2 separate regions of the Homo sapiens genome follow, and region 2 is linked to region 1. The links are contacts of gene promoters, found by promoter capture Hi-C in blood cells and fetal thymus (Javierre and others, 2016). All regions are on one chromosome and are shown on one strand. The core of a region is centred on a gene start or on the middle of the fragment in contact, and the rest is flanking DNA. Distances in the headings are between cores, read along the strand shown. Region 1 holds the start of CRB2 (crumbs cell polarity complex component 2). Region 2 overlaps RABGAP1 (RAB GTPase activating protein 1).

What was found. The method cuts DNA at HindIII sites, captures the fragments that hold promoters and counts their contacts. A CHiCAGO score of 5 or more calls a contact.
Region 2: a contact is called between a fragment that was not itself captured here and the fragment with the promoter of CRB2 in region 1, in 13 of 17 cell types (M1 macrophages, activated CD4 T cells, total B cells and 10 more). The highest score is 12.0, in M1 macrophages.

Annotation. Positions count from the first base shown.
Region 1 is chr9:123,352,847-123,359,472 of GRCh38, reverse strand. CRB2 (crumbs cell polarity complex component 2) reads right to left here and starts at 3,276. Exons shown (of 13, transcript NM_173689.7): 1 at 3,119-3,276. The coding sequence starts at 3,212. RefSeq lists enhancers at 928-1,595, 4,976-5,145, 4,814-5,313 and silencers at 5,276-5,325, 5,346-5,455. The HindIII fragment of the contact is 7,167 bases long and covers 2,000-6,626 here.
Region 2 is chr9:123,058,295-123,065,174 of GRCh38, reverse strand. All of the region lies in intron 13 of RABGAP1 (RAB GTPase activating protein 1), which reads right to left. It also overlaps the pseudogene LOC100422501. Among named protein-coding and RNA genes, the nearest start is that of GPR21, 28 kb to the right of the region's middle. The HindIII fragment of the contact is 1,062 bases long and covers 1,821-2,882 here.

The sequences.
Region 1 (6,626 bases), core at 2,027-4,526:
TTTCTTAAAAAAAAAAAAAAAAAAAAAAAAACAAAACAAAAACGAAAAACCACAAACAAAAAAAGAAGCATTTACTGGGGAAGCTTCCTGTCCCAACAAATCAAGAGACAGAATATTTCTAAGAAGCGACCTAAGATCTCATAAGGTGTGGGAACTTCTAGCATAGGGGAAGAAATTGTTCATCTAATATCCCTGGGCCCCAAGGCTCTACCCTACAAGGGTAGGGCTGAATAACCATGGAGGCTTGCAGACACTCACTCAGTCATCAGGAAAGGGTGAAATTCTCTTTTGGGCAGAATAATTTGGCATACTCTTTTTCAAAAATGTTTACCTTCTGAGGTTAAAAGACATAATTTTGATAACAGTAATTGCAACAATAGCTGTCAGGGACGGAGCACCTACCCTGTGCCTGGCACTGACCAACCCTTGAGAGTTTGGGCTCAGAGCACAGTTCCAGGGAGTTACCTCCTGAAGTGAGGGGGAGACAGAGCAGGTGGGGTTCCCCACCTGCCACCCAAACAGGCCACTTTTAACAATTTTACTATTAACTATTCATGGGCTTCCATCTAAAATTTCCCTTGAAATTGGGGGTTCCATGCCAAAACCTGGGGTGGGGAACCGCTCACTGCATTCTCTTCCAATCCTTATACCAGCGCTCGGAGTAAGCCAGTCTGTCCTCGTTTTGTAGAGACAGAGAAGAGACGTGACTTTGCCTAGGCAAGTAGCACAGTGTACTGTGAAATCCCAGCACTGGCTCTGGGGCTTCCTGGCTCTGGGACTGGCCATCTCTGGGCCTCGTTTACCTCCTCTGTAAACTAGGGGTATCAGAGCTGACTTCATAGGCTGTTGGGAGAATTAAATTAGACCTCGTTAATAATAGCACAGTGCCTGCCATGGAGTGGCTGATCTTACTCATTAACAATTCTTTACTTGAGGCAGACACCCACTGTCCAAAGGATCCTGACATTGGGTTGAATGTGTGTGGCTTTCTGCTCCATCTCTGCTTCTGTCCTGCAGGCCCCCACCCCCTTCTGGCTGGAGGAGGGGCCGGACTTGGGGCCTGGACTCACTGCCCCTTTGTCTGCTGGGCTCCCTGGGTGTTTGGGGAAGGGAGGGTGGATATGAGAGCCCAACGTGCCCCATTGTACTCCAAGATGCTTGGTCCTCTCCATGGCAACCAGCCGGGCCTTTGTGGCAAATTGGGCCCAGGATGGAGAGGCCCAGCTCAGGGCCTGGCAGGGGTGGGGAGAAAAGCCAGGGGCCCATGGCCTCCAGAAGCCCCCATCCCCTCCAGGATGGAAATTGGTTTTCAAGTGACAAAATCCCCAATCCCTCCCCTCCCGGCAGGCAGTCTAGGGTACCAGCATGCAGAAATGGTCATGCCTGCAGTGTACCCCACCAACTTTTAGGGATCCCCAGGGATGGCGCTCCCAGCACAGAAATGGCAGAGGAAAGGCTGCCCCTGGGCAACCCAGCAGGCCTGATGGGTTGAGTGTACACACCAGTGTCCAGACCCCCCACAGCCTCCATCCACTCTGTGCCTCCAGGTCCCCTGTGAGTGCACACTGAGTGTGAATGCACACATGTCCACATGTGCGTGTTGGGGTGTGCACATTGGTGTGCAGGCACATGCCATGTGTGTAGGTAGGTGCATGTGCTGGTAGATCCACATGTGTCTGTAGCACCTGTCCCTGTGGTGCTGTGTGCCCTTGGGCATGCCACACAGGTGTGCGGAGTGTGGGTGTGTGAGCATCACAGGGCAGGGGACAGAGCACCGATCCACAGACCGGGATCTCACGTGCTTTGTATGCAGAGAACAGAGAGGAGCAGCCACCCCGCCCCCCGCCACCATGCCCCACCCCTCTATGGAGCCCAAGTCGCCTGCCAGCAGAGCCCAGCTCATAAGTCCCCGTCCCTCTCTGAGCCTTGGTTTCCTTCACTGCAAAATGGGGTCCTCATCCTCCCTAGGGCCCCATAGAGAGGATAGGAAATGAAAGCTTTGTGAGTGCGGGAAACATGAGGGTCCCCAGGTGGGACTGGGAGACACTTGGCCCCCACACCCTACAGCCTGTGGAGCTCTGGGGCAGGGAGGGCTCCCCCAGCCTCAGGAGAGCCCAGGCCCTCCTTGGCTCCCTCCCCAGCCTGTGGTGGTGGGGGCAGGGGACTTCCCAGGCCCGGCCCCTGTAACTATAGTAACTAACACCAAGCGTTCCCTTGGACCCCCCAGGAGGAATTCCAGGCTCCGAGAGCTTGGACAAAAGCAAAAAGGGCTTGGCAAATGTGGTCTGGCTTCAGGGAGCCCTTTCAGATTGGCCTTGGAATGCTGGGGAGGGGGCAGCAGGGGACACACACATGTTCCCAAATCCCCAGCCACCCCACAGGGACCCAGAGCATCCCCAGCAGCCCTCAGCACAGGCAGGGCTACCGCACAAATGGAGGGGTGCGGGCAGGCACCCAGCTCCCTGAGTCTCCCTCACGCTTCTCCACTCAGTCCCGAGTTGGGGTCGGCTGTGCACATCCCACACCCCTCATGTTGAGAGCAAAGACCTAGTTCAACCCTGGACAACCTACACCCCACAGCGTGTGCTAGGACACAGCTCACCACACCCAACTCCTCGGACACAACTCACGGCTCACCCCAGACAGCTCATCCACCTCCCAACTCTAACACACCCACAACCTGTGCCCCACAACCCAGCATGCGACACAGAACAAGCTCTGGGGTGAGGCTTATGCCACCTGCAACTCCCCAAACTCAGCCCCTAGAAACCCAGAAGTCCCCCAGCCCTTTACAGGATGCAACACAGCACCTCCCAAAACACGCACCCCATCCCTCACCCGCATCAGCTCCCCCAAATCATGCCCAGCCCCCGATCCCCCAACCCCGAAACTTACAACCCCCCTCAACATGAAACAGCCCCGAGCCTCAGAACACACTCACCTCCGTGGAGCCCCACAGAGTCTGGGGGCCACAGCCGCGCACTCCTGTGCACCCCACAGCTCAGGCCTGCACCCACGCGGACCAGCCCACCCACCACCCCAGCAGCCAAGGCTTGGGGTATCTGTCTTGGGGGACAGACCCTCTCCCAGGCCCCTCCAGACATGGGCCCCAACTCACCAGCCAGGAGGGAAAGGGCAGGGGCCCAGAGCAGCAGTAGCAGGACAGAGGCCAGGGCCTGGGGGTCCGGGGTCCCAGGCCTGGCCAGCGCCATGGCAGCCCGCTCTGCGCTCTGCTCGGCTGCTGTGAGAACGGGAGGGCGGCCTGGCTGGCTCCGCACCCCCCTCGTCCCTCCAACCAGCACTAATGCTGTGGACAGAGGCCCAGCCCCTCCCTCCCCTCCCCGCCACCGCCTCCTCCTCCCACCCAGGCCTCCTGGGCTGCTCCACCTCGTGGACGTCCCTAGACATCAGCCCCAAGTCCTCAAGCCCCCTAGCCTGTGGGGCTGACCTGGTCTTGGCACCCACTGGTTTCTCCCTCCTGACCCTCTGCCCCACTCTCCTCCCACCTCTCAGGTCAGCCTCCTTGGAGAAATTTCTGTCCTTGGAGAGGGGGCTGTTCAGGACTCTCGTCTCACCAGGTGATGCCAGCTACTCCCAAGTCCTTAGTTATCCCCTCTCCTGGATCCCCCTCCCCACCTCTCCAGCCCGGGCCTCTCTCCCAAGCCCAGGCCTTCGAGTCCAGTCGCCTCCCAGACCCTGTCTCTGCTGGGAAGCTGCAGCCCCTCCCACCCAGCTCGTCCCCCCACCTGCTGCTCCCCAGTGCTCCCATCGGAGCCAAGGCACCTCCCATCGGGCAGCCCAACGCCCCCTCCCCACTCCCCCCTCCCCACACTCGGTCAGCCCCTAGCTCCTGGCCATGCCACCTTCTCAGTGTCTCCTGCTGTCCCCACCCCGTCCCACCCGACCACACACAGCTCCTCCCACCATCGGCCTCAGGATCAGCTCCCTGCAGGGCACCTCACCCCTGCACCACGGTGGTCCCTGCCTCCCTTTACCCTCTCCACCCTTCACCAGCCAAACTGAACCTTTCCCAGCTTTCTTCCACTTGACCTTGATCTCTGGCTCTGCTGTTTGCAACTCCAGCGACCTCACTGCAATCCAAAGCAGCCCATTCTACTGAAAGGCAGCTCTAACCAAGCAAGCATTGCTCTCCCCTGCCAGGAAGTCCTTCTTGTTGTCTAACCTTATAGTCTCCTGCTGCACTCGATGTTTGCTTGCTCTCCAGCTGGCCTCTTGTTGGGGTGGACAGGAGGAGCTCTTCAGGGGGACCTGGTTCAGGAAGCCAGGTCATCTCAGAGACACTACAACATAGAACAACATTCCTTTCTTCTACCACCCTCAGCCCCAGTGGGGAGAGAATCCTCTTGCTGAAGGGACTTTCCTGAAATGAGCCACCGGCCCCTGCCAATACATGCCTGTTTGTCCCTATTCAGTAACCGTGGATACAGCCCACGCAGGCCCTGGGCTCTGGGATGTGTCCCTGACACGGGAGGACACAGCCTGGAAAGACAGCAGGAGCCATTGAGGGAGGTCCAGATGAGCTAGAGGGATGGGCAAGGGTCCCCTGCAGTGCAGGGGAGGGAGCAGTGGGCACCACACAGGCCCTGGCCGACCCTCTAGCCCGGGGCAAGTGCCACAGCCCTGGGTCCCCAGGGACCAAAGGAGGGAACCCAAAAAGGCCTGGGTAGACTCCTTATCCACTGCCCCTGCCCCATCCCTGCCCTTGAGGCCTGTTCTCTCCAGGGCAGGGATTGCCCCTTGGTTTCTGGGACACTAACCTCTCTCAGTCCATCTTTAATCCCCTGCCTCTCCAATACAACAGGATCCCTCTCCCCAGGTGGGAGAAGCCCCTCTCCATGCCACAGGAAAAGCAGAGGCCTCACAGCGTAAGAGATCTGGGTTCGAGCCCAGCTCAGCCACTGATTAGCCGGTGACCTCAGCACGTGACTTCCTTCTCTGGGCCTCAGTCTCCTCACCTGTAAAATGGTGGCGTTAGTGAGCCAAGGCGACAGTGCCAGCTCTCTTTATCCAGCTTCTCAGTGATCCCCCAGAGACCCAGGCAATCCCAATGGGGGGCTGGGGGGAGCACGGCAAGTCAACCACCACCCTCTGGTTCTCTGGATGCACAGACACAAACTCCCACACTTTCACAGAGCGGGGAGGTCACCCGGCGCAGGTCCAGTCTCCTCTGCAGCCCGGCCCCCAGCACTGTCCTGCAGCCGCCACACTCCACCTTGTGGCCAGACCTGGAAGTGTCTTGTGAGGTCTGGAGGGTATGGAGGGGGGCTCCCCCGACAGCACCGGGTACAGGAGTCCCACGTGACGGGGAGGAAGCCAGGGAGTCGCTGGACAGCAGGCAGGACGGAGGTCAGACAAGGGCACACCATCTTGACCGCTCCCTGGTCCGGATCTGGAGAAGGCAGTAAGAGTGGGCCAGCTCCTCTGAGATGGTCCCCCAGGTGCATCCACTTCCCCTGTCCTCCCCACCTGGGAAGGGAATCGACATAACCTCAGTTTACCCCCCCCCCACCCACCAGCAGCACTGCAAAGTCAGCATTGGCCCCATTCTATGGATGAGGAAACCGAGGCACAGAGAGGTGAGCAGCCCAGCACCAGTGCCTGGCAGGATTCGAGTTGGGTCTGCCCGACTCCAGCCTTTCCACTGGTGAACCTCCGACTGCAGGTTACTAACTGCCCCTCCACTAGCCTGAGCATGACTTGCTGCCACCTCCCTGGCTGAGGGGACGCTGTCCTGGGCCGGGATTCCCACCAACTCTCAAGCTGATGGGCACATGCGACAGCAAGGTTCAGTGGTTGGGAGTCCCAGCTTTGGCATCAGGCAGACCTGGGTTTGAATCCGGTTCCTGCTCTCTGCCCTTAGGTGAGCTTTTGTTGGTCTGTTCCTTTTCTGCGTCTTAGTTCTCCCATCTGTAAATGGGATCATCACAGCATCTGCCTGAGAACATTGCAAGGACTGGGCGGCTGCTGTCAGAGCCTCGTCGTGGGAGGATAGTGACCCTCCCCACTGAGGAGCCCACCAGAAGGAACCCCTTCAGACCCTTCCAGGTGACTCCTGCTCTGGATCATTCCCCAGGGTCTCACATCTCCCTTCTCAGGGTCTCACTGGTTGTTCTGTTTGTCCCTACTCCCCACCCAGAGCCGCCCTTGCCCTGCTGGCACCTGTGGGCTGTGTCATGCTGGCTTCCTTCCATCTGCTTCCTGGAAAGGTGAGCCAGTGGGAGGCACAGGCCGGAGATGCCAGGGAGAGAGGAGATGGAGGTTGGGGTGTTTCTTCCCCTCCTTCTCCCTACATTGGGTATTGGGGTGAGAGTGACTGCAGCTCCAGCTGAGGCCCCTTCGGCTCTCACGGCCCAGGTCCCCCTGCTCCCTCTGTGTCTGAGTCTGGGGCCACCATCAGCCCTGACCTCACTGGGTTTCTCTAAGGCCTTCTCCATTGTCACCCATGCCCTCCTTCTTGGAACTCTGTCCCTGTGGGCTCCCCAACCCCTGCTACCCTGGTCTCTCTACCTTGTTAACCGTTCCTCACTCCTCCTCCCAGAATGTTGTGACCTGTCCGGGTCTGTCTCCAGCCCCCTGCCCTCCTCACTCCACATTCCTCCCTGGAC
Region 2 (6,880 bases), core at 1,102-3,601, 290 kb after region 1:
ATGTAAAGGGGGAAAAAAGATGGAAGAAAAGCAACCCATTTCACTCTATACACTTCCATATTATACTCCATCCTTACTGCAAAGAACTGCAGCTGGTGACCCTTCTATTGTAAGATGGAAAATGTGCTATTAAGAATGGATTTCCTATAGGAAAATACTCAAACTAATCGCAAAAGGAGGAGGTAAAGTGCTCCCAGTAGAAAAACTGCTGCTTTAATTGATGCTTTGGAATGAAGCCCATATGCCAGTTTTCAAATGGAAAAGAGTAGTTACTTAATTGGGATTTGTCCTAGAGGCAAATGGCATAAGAATGCACAAAGCAATCTACTCAGTATGAACAAGACCACCAAATGCCAAGGGATTCAAACAGGCTATGGGAAAATATCCTTTGCTTTTTCCAATGGACAAAAACTGTTTCCTCTTCTATAATGAGTTAACTAAAACGGAACAAATGTCAATAATGTCAACAAACCTTTGTAAAATACACCAAGCACCCAGTTATTTCTAATATTCTCCCCTTGTTAAATTTCATTTGCTGACACAGTAAAGAACTGGAACACAGAAATATGACCTTCTACTTTAACAATGCAGTGTCTTCATAGCTAAGACAATAGAGTTGATTCCCCTTGGTAAGAATACATCATAATCAGTATACTACCAAAGAACATGATACCTCTGTTTTAAGATGAAAAATGCAAGTGATGTTCTTCTCTTGTCCAATAATTTCTCTAGCCTTTTGGGTAATCATGTTCCGAAGGCCATGAATATTTTATAGTTGTGGGATCTGAACTAACTTTAAAGCCTATGCTCCTTCTTAAACAGTAAACTATTTATACCTTCAAGGATGTCGCCAAATTGCTTTTCAAAGAGCTTTAGTGGCATATGTTACTTCTAGTTATTAACATAGTCTTAACAGTTAATGGCAGCTCAGGACTGTGGTGCTCTTCAACAAAAGGAAAAAATCCAAGGGAGATCTATGACTACAGCAGCTAATTACATGGTGGCAGCTTCCAGACTGAATTAGAGCTCCGCGTTGGAGGTATCTTCAAAAGTTGAGAAAGTGGGAGAGAGAGGGAGAGCAAGCGAGAGTGAGAAAATGAGAGAGCGAGCGAAGTGAGCGAGAGTGAGAGTGAGAGCGAGTGAGAGAGCACGCACACAAATTTTGGGGCGGGCAAGGTAGCTAGAATTGTAGGGTAGAGTGCTAGTGAGGAATATGCTGAACAGAGAGCTGAAGAGTTAGAAGAGGGGTCGCTATGAGATATGAATTATAAATAAACGACAAGCTGGACACTTCATCAAAATTTAAAAATCTTACTATTCAAAAAACTGTTTAAAATATGAAAAGGTAAGTCACAGGCCAGGACACAATGCCTACAAAACATATCTGATAATAAAGTTGGAGTTGTATCCAGAATATATAACTCTCCAAATTAATGAGAAAGACAATTAATTTTTTAAAGTGGGAATGTGTAAATGATTGAGGTGTTTCATTAAGGAAGATATAACACATGGCAAATAAGCACTTGAAAAGATGTCAACATTACTAGCCCTCAGGGCAGTGCAAATTAAAACCACAATGAGATTCCACTACATATCTACAAAATGCTAAAATTAAGAAGTGTTGGCAAAGGATAAGAAACAACTGGAACTCCTATACAATGCAAAATGGTACAAACACTTTGTAAACAGTTTGGTGGTTTCTTACAATAGTAAACACATAATTACCATACAACCCAGTGATTCCATTCCTAGGTATTTACCAAAGAGAACTGAACATATAAATGCATGAAAAGACTTAAACTCAAATGTTTACAGAAGCTTTATTCCTAACAGCCAAAACTGGAAACAATCCAGAGAGAATCAGATGAATTTAGGAATTCTATAAAACAACAACAGAAGCTCTAAAAAATGCTAAGAATGATAAACTGTGGTTTAAGACAACTACGAAGGTTAGGAAATTAAATTGAGAATGGAGAGGAATATGGAAACGTTCAAAATATTTTACACCAGTTACATCAATCATATCACACTGATTACGGAGATGACAACCTGAAAAAGGATACAGTTATTAGAGATATGAGATTTGGGCTGGGCATGGTAGCTTATGCCTGTAATCCCAGCACTTTCAGAGGCTGAGACAGGTGGGTCACTTGAGGCCAGGAGTTTGAGACCAGCCTGGCAACATGGTGAAACCCTGTCTCTGACTACAAATACAAAAATTAGCCAGGCATGGTGGCAGGTGCCTGTAATCCCAGCTACTTGGAAGGCTGAGGCATGAGAATCGCTTGAGCCAGTGAAGCAGAGGCTATAGTGAGCCAACATCGTGGCACTGCACTCCAGCCTGGGCGACACAGCGAGACCTGTCTCAATTAAAAAAAAGAGAGAGAGAGGAGACGAGATTTAGAAATTCAACTGTACACAGGACGTAAAAAATAACAAAAAACTGAAAGTACTCTCTATAACTGGGCCAGTTCTTGTCAATTTGCCATCCCATATCCATTAATCATGGAATTATCAGAGAATGAAGGGGCAAAATGCCCTTAAAAGAAGGTCATTTTGAAAATTCACACTCAATTTTTGATGCCTTCAAGAATGATAATAAATTGAGGAGTTCCATGTGAATCATTTGCTTAAAATATTTGGCCTTAAGGAAATATGCTGAAGAACTTGGAATAAATTCATTTGACTTGCTGGAGGCCACATCATGCAAAAGTGATGCAGAAATTCTAATAATGATGAGTTTAGTAAGTTCCTATCAGAATGACATTAAATTTGAAAAGGTTCTGAAAATAAAACACAGCAACATTATGGATGATCCCCTAAGAGAAAAAAAGCAAAGAGCTTTTCAAAATAGTCAAAGCAAGTGCTTACAAAATTAAGCTTTATACAACAATATATATTCCTTTTCTTTCTTGTTTCGCTCTTGTCGCCCAGGCTGGAGTACAATGGAGCAATCTTGGCTCACCGCAACCTCCGCCTCCCTGATTCAAGCGATTCTCCTGCCTCAGCCTCCCAAGTAGCTGGGATTACAGGCATGTGCCACCACGCCTGGCTAATTTTTGTATTTTTAGTAGAGACGGGTTTTCTCCACGTTGGTCAGGCTGGTTTTCAACTGACCTCAGGTGATGCGCACGCCTTGACCTCCCAAAGTGTTGGGATTACAGCTGTAAGCTACCACACCCGGCCATATTCCTTTTATTTCTAAGGAGTTAAACATAAATGTAACTGATGTAGAGAGCCTGCCAATGCAACACATGTAACACTATTCGTGGCCAAACTGATCAAGTCAACCAAATACATCCTCTTAAGGAGGCTGTAGTTAGTATAATGGCTTAACAGACAAGTTTTTATAAATGTACTTACGGCAACAGTGCACAGATGGTGACTTTAAAAGAACACGGAATGAATGGCAAAAGTATTGTCAGTTGTTACGTTCTGAAAATTACTGCTGTTATAAGAGAGGTGGGTTGTTTTGTTTTGTTTTGTTTTGTTTGATCAACTGGTTTTGTGTTTTGGCTAATTCATTTATCCCAAGAAAAACACCCTTAATTTCCAGAAGAAAACAAAAATGCAATAGGATTATGCACTATTGCCATCTTGCAAACTTCTTCTATAAAGGGTCAGGTAAAAATTTTTGGCTTTGCAAGCCATTCAGTGCTGCAGTTATTCAACTCTTCCCTTGTAGAGCAGCCATAGACAATATGTAAATAAACAAGCACTGCTGTGTCCTAACAAAACTTTATTTATAAAAGCAAGCGCATGCCAGGCGCAGTAGCTCATGCCTGTAATCCTAGCACTTTGGGAGGCCGAGGCGAGTAAACCACTTGAGCCCAGGAGATTGAGACCAGCCTGGGCAACATGGCAAAATCTCATCTCTACAAAAATACAAAAATTAGCCGGGCGTGCTGGCATACACCTGTCTTAGCTATTCGGGAGGCTGAAGCAAGAGGATCCCTTGAGCCCAGGAGGTAGAGGTTGCAGTGAGCCAAGACTGTGCCACTGTGCTCCAGCCTGGGCAGTAAGAGAGAGAGCCTGTCTTATACAACAATAACAACAACAACAAAAATGAATAAACAAAAGTGAGAGGCAAACTGAACCTGGCCCTGAGGTGGTAGTTTGTTAACCCTTGTTATAAGTATACTACAACACAGTAATTTGTTATGGTCAGCATGACCAGAGAGAAGATTTTTGTTATGATTTTAAATATACTAACATGTTATTAATTTTATACATGCTTTGCCCTCAGAAACTTTGTCACAACCTGCTACAACTTGAAATGTATATCTCTTTGAACACTTTTGTACTTTTTTCACATAATAACAAATGTTAAAAATGTTTGCTGCATTTTGCAAAAGTCTGTATATTCCTGTCTATGCAGTGTAGTACACGTTTCAATAAAACCCTGTAATTGTAGTGGTATATAGTCCCTGACATTTCAAGCAGCAAAATAAACAGTATATACAGCTCACAAATTATAAACACAAACTGACACACATGAGACTGGCTAAAATAAAAATACCAAATGTTGGTGAGAATATGAAATTACTGGAACTCTCAATGGTTGCTAATGGGTGTGTAAATGATATAACCACTTTGGTAAAGAACATGGCAGTTTCCCAGAAAGTTAAATATATACCTAACTACCATGACCCAGCAATTCCATTCCTAATACCCTCATGTGTAATAGCCCAACTAGAAACCTCAAATGTCCATCTACAGAAAAAGTGATAAATTATGGTATATCCATCTAATGGAATACTACCCAGCAATACAAATGAACCTCTAATACATGAAACAACACAAATAAATCTCAAAAACATTATGTTGAGCAAAAGCCCATGGTGACAGAAACCGAAATGGTTACCTGGGGGTGGGAGGGAAATCAACTGAAAAGGGGCATAAGGGAACTTTCTGAGATGACAGAAATGTTTATATTTTCTTTGGTGTTTACACAAATATAAGAAATTGTCAAAACTCATCAAAATGAACACATAAGGTGTATGTTTATTGTATGTAAATTATACTACACTCACAAAAACTGTAATCTCACATTCCCCACCTCCCTCCACCAACATTTCTCAACAGTTCTCTATTCTTGTGAATGGCAGCAGGTTTTACCACCTTGTTTCTGATTCTAGCTACCATGAATCATCACTGATCTGGAGATCTTTCTGCAGAGTCTGGATTCTGTCTCTTCCTTTCCACTTCTAGTGCATCACCCAAAGGCAGACCCATGCTTCATCTTACCAAGACTAATATAACAGCCTAAATGATTGTCTTAGTCGCTTTGGGCTACTCTAACAAAATATTACAAACTGGGTGGCTTATAAACAACAGGAATTGTTTTTACAGTCTGGGAGGCTGGAAATTCCAAGATCAAGATGCTGGAAAATTCAGTGTTTGGTGAAGGGTCGCTTTGCAGCTCATAGGTGGCATGTGCTTGCTGTGTTCTCATATGGGGCAGGGCAGCTCTCTAGGTCTCTTCTTTATAAGAGCACAAATCCCATGCATAAGGACTTTGCCCTCATGACCTAATCACCTCCCAAAGGCCCCATCTCCTAACAGCATCACATTAGTGATTAGTTTTTTTTGTTTTTGTTTTTTAATTTTTATTTATTTTGAGACGGAGTATCGCTCTGTCACCCAGGCTGGAGTGCAGTGGCGCAATCTCGCCTCACCGCAACCTCCGCCTCCCGGGTTCACGCCATTCTCCTGCCTCAGCCTCCTGAGTAGCTGGGACTACAGGTGCCCGCCACCACGCCTGGCTAATTTTTTTAATTATTTAGTAGAGACGGGGTTTCACTGTGTTAGTCAGGATGGTCTCGATCTCCTGACCTCGTGATCCGCCCGCCTCGGCCTCCCAAAGTGCTGGGATTACAGGTGTGAGCCACCTTGCCTAGCCATGGTTAGGTTTTAACATATGAATTTTGGGGGGACATAAACATTCAGACCATAACACTGATCTTCCTTTATCTCTTTACTTCTACTGGCACAACCGTGTCTGATTAATTTTTCTGAAATGCATGGACCAATCAGATCATTTTGCTGGTCATAAACTTTTATGAGTCATTATTACTATGTATACAGGAGGAGGTCCATGCCTTCTCCTTCATACTGACCACTTCACAAGTAGACTGAACACTAATCTGATTTCAGAATACCACTTGAACCATGTAGTAAGTAGGGTCACTGCTGACAAAGGCACCCAGGACATTTTGTTCTCTCTCAAATGCATGCTGCAATATCCTGAGTATCTGGGGCATGCTGGGGGAAGACTGGAGCATTACAAAGAGAAAGGCCTTTAAACCCAGACATATATTCAAGTCCAATGTGCTGCTGGTGGCTCCCAGTTAACAAATTAAACCTTGTTTTCCACTTGTCACTCTTCCTTGTGTTTATATTTCTTTGAAAACTTCAAGAGAAAAAGGGGTGACTGGCATGGCACAATTTGGGCATTGTTGGAAGTAATTCTATTTAAAACTATACTGTAAAATATCAGCACTTCTTAAATTTATTCACTAAACAAATACTGAGAATTAACGCCTCATGCTAAAATCCAAATCTCTTTCCCAAACATAACCTAAAATCAATGATATACCTTACTGCATTTTAAAAGGAAAAAAAAAAAATCTAACTTTTGGCTTTCTTAGTATAATAAAACCTTTTTGTTTTCTTATTTTAATAAAATTGTTTTGCTTTTTTGTAACAATAATACTGGAAGGAAAAAGAAGAATTTTACCATTCAGATAATAACTATGGCTAATATTTGGTTCGCATATGCCAAACTTTTTAGGTTATAACCATTTATTTTTATAAAATGAGTGTAGATTTTAGAAAAATTTTTTTTTGCTAACTACAAAATATTGTATCTTTTCATATT